Linked DNA regions of Homo sapiens: region 1 is linked to region 2. The links are contacts of gene promoters, found by promoter capture Hi-C in blood cells and fetal thymus (Javierre and others, 2016). All regions are on one chromosome and are shown on one strand. Each heading gives the region's core, a stretch centred on a gene start or on the middle of the fragment in contact. The rest is flanking DNA. Distances are from core to core; before and after follow the strand shown. Region 1 overlaps C12orf50 (chromosome 12 open reading frame 50). Region 2 holds the start of NTS (neurotensin).

The links. The method cuts DNA at HindIII sites, captures the fragments that hold promoters and counts their contacts. A CHiCAGO score of 5 or more calls a contact.
Region 1: a contact is called between a fragment that was not itself captured here and the fragment with the promoter of NTS in region 2, in 1 of 17 cell types (endothelial precursors). The highest score is 5.5, in endothelial precursors.

The regions. Positions count from the first base shown.
Region 1 is chr12:87,992,602-87,995,487 of GRCh38, reverse strand. C12orf50 (chromosome 12 open reading frame 50) reads left to right here. Exons shown (of 13, transcript NM_152589.3): 7 at 745-855. Among named protein-coding and RNA genes, the nearest start is that of C12orf50, 35 kb to the left of the region's middle. The HindIII fragment of the contact is 1,785 bases long and covers 656-2,440 here.
Region 2 is chr12:85,872,681-85,875,734 of GRCh38, reverse strand. NTS (neurotensin) reads right to left here and starts at 1,440. Exons shown (of 4, transcript NM_006183.5): 1 at 1,259-1,440. The coding sequence starts at 1,331. The HindIII fragment of the contact is 11,906 bases long and covers 1-3,053 here.

The DNA of each region.
Region 1 (2,886 bases), core at 299-2,798, 2.1 Mb before region 2:
CTCTCTAAATATACACATTGTTATTATAATCTTCTGAATTGTTCGAGAGAATAAGTTACAGACATGATACCTCTTTGCTTTTACATTAACTGTAGTATAAATATAAAAATCAGAAAATAACCACTGATAGAATATCATTTATAACCTTCTTTTCCCACAAATTTTACCAATTATGCCATTAATGTGCTTTATAGTAAAATAAATTTTTTCCCCTAGTCTAGGATCCAATCCAGAATCACACATTGCATTAGGTTGTCATGTCTCTTTTATTTTGCTTTTAATAGTTTATTTTAGAAGAAAATTATCCAGAAATGCATGGGGAAAGCTGAGAGTATTATTTAATTATCAGTGTAGTTAGCATTTTGTAGTCAATAGTGACTCTAATACTTTTTATCTGATTGTTCATGGTGAACAGATAAAATCAAAAGTAATATTACAAAATTCCTTATATGAGAAACATATCAAACTAGATATATTATGTATATACAATAGTGTTAGATTGCTTACAATTTTTAATTGCCATTGAATAAATAATCCAAATAGGAGAATATACTTGCTTACTTCTTTGTTGACACAGAATTTAAAACTCATGTATTTATTAATTTATTGTTTATCAGATCACTGTGCAAACAATACTTGCATTAACTTTAAAGCTTTTTTACTTTCATCATGCATTCTATCATAAATTTCTTATTTAAGCATCTAATAATTTCTGGGGTGACTTTTTTTTCTTCTTATTTCTAGGAGATAGTCTTACAGTTCCGACAAAACTTAGCCAATATGAAAGGCAAGGTGAAATAAAAACATCATTGCATGGGAAACCAAAGACTGACATTGCTGCTTTTGAAAATGGAGGTGAGTTAATTTATTACTGATTGACCCTGAATATATCACCACATAATAAATGAGTCTGAATTTTATCTTTTACAACTAATTTTCTTTTTTTGTCCATGTCATGTTTAACACAAGAGTTTGGAGGTATATCACAAAATCAGTTGCTTTCAGAGACCAAAATCTCTGCCAAATACCTTGTGCGAATTTGTGTTCAGTGTATAAGACATTCCATTTTTCATATTTTAATGAGAAACCTGTGTGTGTGTGTGCATGTATGTGTGTGTGTGTGTGTCTGTGTGTAGGCTCAACTCCAGACTATAATGAATTCAGGTGTTATGTATGTGCTGTAATATACTATAACAGAGCTATAAATGAAGGAGGCACTTAATAAATCATTTGATTAAGTCTACTTTTTATTTATCTACTTATTTATTTATTTATTTATTTATTTATGAGATGGAAGTCTCACTTTGTCACCTAGGCTGGAGTGCAGTGGTGCGATCTCGGCTCACTGCAACCTCCATCTCCCGAGTTCAAGCTATTCTCCTGCCTCAGCCTCCTAAGTAGCTGGCACTACAGGTGCGTGCCACCACACCCGGCTAATTTTTGTATTTTTAGTAGAGACGGGGTTTCACCATGTTGGTCAGGCTGGCCTCAAACTCCTTACCTCAGGTGATTTGCCCGCCTTGGCCTCCCAAAGTGCTGGGATTACAGGCACGAGCCACCGAGCCCAGTGGACTTAAAGTCTACTTTAAAGGAGCTATATTCAAATATATATCATTTGTCATCACATTCTAACTGTGTATTATAGCTTAAATATTTTGGAACTGCTTTTTAGCATAAACATGTTGGAAAATCTGTCCTTTGACTGAAAATTCCAAGCGTTTGTTTTGAAAATATATAGAGATTTTGTGGGGAGGTTGAAAGGTGTGGCTGATGGGAAGAATGTGTGTGAAGAGTAGGAAGGAGGTTGAGAGCAGGTATCAGTAAGTACCAGTATCTCTTAGGCATATTGGTGATACTTTCTGCTGTCCTGGTGTCAGCCATTTTCTTCTGTGTGCCCCCCACTGCCCTTTTTTTTTGGTGCTAAGGTAATTTGATTATTTTTTCTCCTTTCTTACATCTGCAGCAGTTTTAGTCTAGCTGTTTTAGTCTAGCTGTAATTGTTTTAGTCTAGCTGTAATTGTTTGGTTGCCTTGAAGCAATAAGTTTTAGCTACAAATTAGAAACACTGGCAGTCTCTCCTAACGGAGTTCCCACTGTCTATTTAACCTATATAAGTGGGATCCACTTAACCCGAGCAGTTCTAATCGAACAGTTTGTTGAAATATCATTAAATCAGATAGCTTTTTTGGTTAATAAAAGGTTATTTTTAACCATTGATAGACTAATGGTTTCATATAAAAATAAACTTTCCTTCACGTTGTAACATTAATAATATATTACCTACTTTGTTGGGAGTTAGAAAATGTGAGAATGTCATTATACTGTCATTAGCCTAATATTAATAATATTGTTAGAGTAATGAACTAGTTGAAAAACCATACTAAAAGAATATTTAAAAAATTCCATTATCTGGTATACTAAGTTCTGGTATAGTCAAGCTTATTGATTTTCCAGGCATCATAATGTTCTCTGTGTCACTAGATAAAATAATCTTCTGGGTATGTGTATATGATAGATATATCTAAACATATTTAGGCTCCTGCATTCATAAGACATCTTTGAAATGAAGATGATCAAAACTGAAATTATAATTAATGAATTAGTATTCATTTCAAGAAAAATACTTGAGGCATTGTCTTGTCTTAATATTATTTTAATGTGTTATTGCACTTTAATAAAGTTCACAGATCTGAAGTGAATAGCTTGTTAAAATTTTACTTGTGTATGTATCAATATAACCATATTTATGGTACTCCAGATGGCTCTTTCTCTCCAAGTCAATAGTCTTCTCCCAGTGGTAACCAGTACTCTGGTCGCTATTACTATAGGCTAATTTTGCATTTTTTGACCTTTATATAAGTGGAAATATACAGTTTGAACTCTTAG
Region 2 (3,054 bases), core at 191-2,690:
CAATGTATACCAAAATCCTTATAACTATTGCATTATTACAACAAGTAGTTTCAAGTTAATAAACACAGTGCTTAATCAATAACCCAGTTTTTCTTCCAGAAGTATGTGAATCTTTAATCTCATATAACTTTCAGATAAAATCATAATTATAGAAAAGTTTGTTTTTTCTCATAAGATTTAAAAAGTAGAAGCTGAAAGTTATGTTCTGATGATTAAAATAAATTTAAAATTTTGTATAAATCACATTTATATCTTCTTAGATTTTAATTTCATAATTTAAATCAAATGATAGCATGAGTTTGAGTTAAACATTTCCATGTCATATTTATGATACATAAAAGCACAGAACAGGTTAAATTATTTTTGCTGCATTTGCTTCCTAATGTGTTCTTTTCCCTTTGAAGTGTTCATTGTAATATTTCTTAAATATTAAGTAGAGCCTTTTGCAATGGTTGTAATATTTCATGTTATACCTTTCAATTTAAGTCTTATTTTCAAAGTGAGTTATTCGTAGATACTTAGGACTATATAACTTCTTTCAAACCACATGCAAAACACTCTAAAGTCAAATAATTTCCATCAATATAAGAATACCAATTTTCCAATTGTATTTTGTATTAACTTAAATGGCATGGAAAAAATGCCAAACAGTTATATTAATAGCACACTTATTAGACTATGCAAATTCTGTTCTCAAAAAGGATCTGGAATATTTTTGTATTTTTCTAGAAATAATTTTCTACAAATAATGCTTCATTTTTCACTAAGTATCAATTTTCACTTTATTTGTTATCTTAACACAAACAAGAAAATAATACGGGGACTATTACAAGGGCGTGAGGGCCACCGCTTCCTAAGAGAATGAATGAGGATGAGAGTAAAACATTTTGAATGGAATGGGATTTAATGATGGGTTTGCAGGTTGACAGCCACTGCCTCTGTATTTCTCATTAGATAATGATCAGCCTAATTGAAAGTTTTGTAGGGTTTTTTTCCCTCTAGTTGTTGAATTCCAAAGGAGGTCGTGCAGTGTTTCATTGAAATCCCTTTTATTGCTTTGCAGATTTTAAAAGAGAAAATACATCTCTCAGTAATCATAAAGGCAGAGAAAGAGATACTCAGTTTCTGTCACTAAAAGGTAAATCCTGAATAAAAGGGAGCAACTCTTCTCCCCAGATACATTAACATAAGTAGCAACACACTGCAAAAGAGAAAAAAGAAATCACTTCAGGGAGTTGTGAAATTCTGTTTTGCTTACCTGAGCACAGACTCCAGGAGCTGAAAGCCAGGAGTAGCATGCATACAAGCTGGATTTTCATTCCTGCCATCATCTTTCAGCCTTCTAACAAGCCAAGTCCGTAAAAGTCAGAAGCACACTGAAGGGGGCTCTCTCTAGCACTTCCTCTTTCCTTCAGCTGGCTTTGAAAGTGAGTGAACTATGAGAGGTGCTCTGGCCATTCCCCTATATATATAAGCAGGAGGATGATGTCATTGATTGTACAGACATTATCTTTGCAGGATGTGCCCTATCTTCACCTCCATCCCTCCCCTCTTTGCCCTGCTTTCTCCTCCCCTTTTCCTTTGTCCCCCCTGCTCTCCTCCCCCATTTCTGAACCTTGAGTGAAAGTGACGATCTTCCCTAATTGCTGCTGCTGCTGCTTTGGATTTCTGACGCACAGAAGGAGTCATTCAACTGCACTGACATACAGCATACATACAGCATACTGACAAAGAACCCCCAGTATCATCCTTTTCCCACTTCTCATTCCCCCACTCCAAAAGTTGTCATTTTGATTTTGTGAAACATGAGATCTGTTATTTCTAATTTTTAAGGAAAATCTCCAGGATGAATGCATGAAATCAGTGATTCCTTAGGCTTGGAAGTTCTTGAAGAGTTAGGGTGCTTCTCTGGTAATTCAAACTTCTGAGCAAATGTTTAGTGGTTCCAAAACTAATACAGGTTTTAAATAATCCATGCTGGAATAAGATGGAATAGAGACAGAGAATCAGTTATAAAAATTAAGCAATTAAGTTTAGAGAATAGAAAGAAAATCAATAAAAAGAAATAATAGATCCAGGGAATAAGATATTATTTCCTAACAAATAGAAAATATTTTATTGTAAGTAATGAGAGATGACTGAACTATGTGTGCTGACTTTTGGTTGAATGTATTAGAAAAACAATTTCATGTTTATAAAATCCAGCTCTAAATTACTTACATTCTAGCAGGTAAAAATTTGTGTTGTTGTATCACTGACTTTTTTTCTGTACATTATCTCTTTTTATGCCTATATTTTTCTGCTCTTTTTGAATTCATTCTTGATGCCATGTCTCACTCTTTGTATAATTCCCTTCTCAACAGTTTTTACTATTGCATCGGCTTTCTTTCCCTGTTATAATACTCTTTTCACCATAAAAAAAGAGATTGTACTTTTGGAAAGGAGACAATCCTAAATAACCACCATTCACCAAAGTCACTTTTCTATGATAGTCTTCATGTATTTCATGAGTTACACTGATACCCATTCTTTGTCTGAGTTCTCAAAAGAAAATTGTTCAAAATGCCTTTTAGAGTAAAACTTTCTTCTTGTAGTAAGCATTTCAAGATACATGGGGTAATTTGACAAGTCAGTGCTGTTAGAGATGTGAATATTTGAATGTAAAGTTGTCTGAGTCTTGTTTAATTTTTAAATAAATCAATCATGTAGTAACAGTTGAGAAAAAATAGGATTGGTTCCTATAGATAATTGATTTATATTATACAATCTATGAGTTTAACTTTTTCACCTTTACCCAAAACTTAAGCAAAGCGATTAAATCCAAACATTTAATAATTACTTAGAATAGCAAGGAGTCTTTCATATAATACCAGAAATTTAATAATAACTGATATATTTATTACTTTTAGTTTGTTTTCTGAACTTACATAAAACACAATATTGAACATACTCACATGGAGGAAGGTTTCTGTAAAGTATTTAGTTGACAAATGTGAAATACATACGTCTAGATGTTTTCTGCTTTCCTACCATTAGGGGGAGCAATGGAAGCTT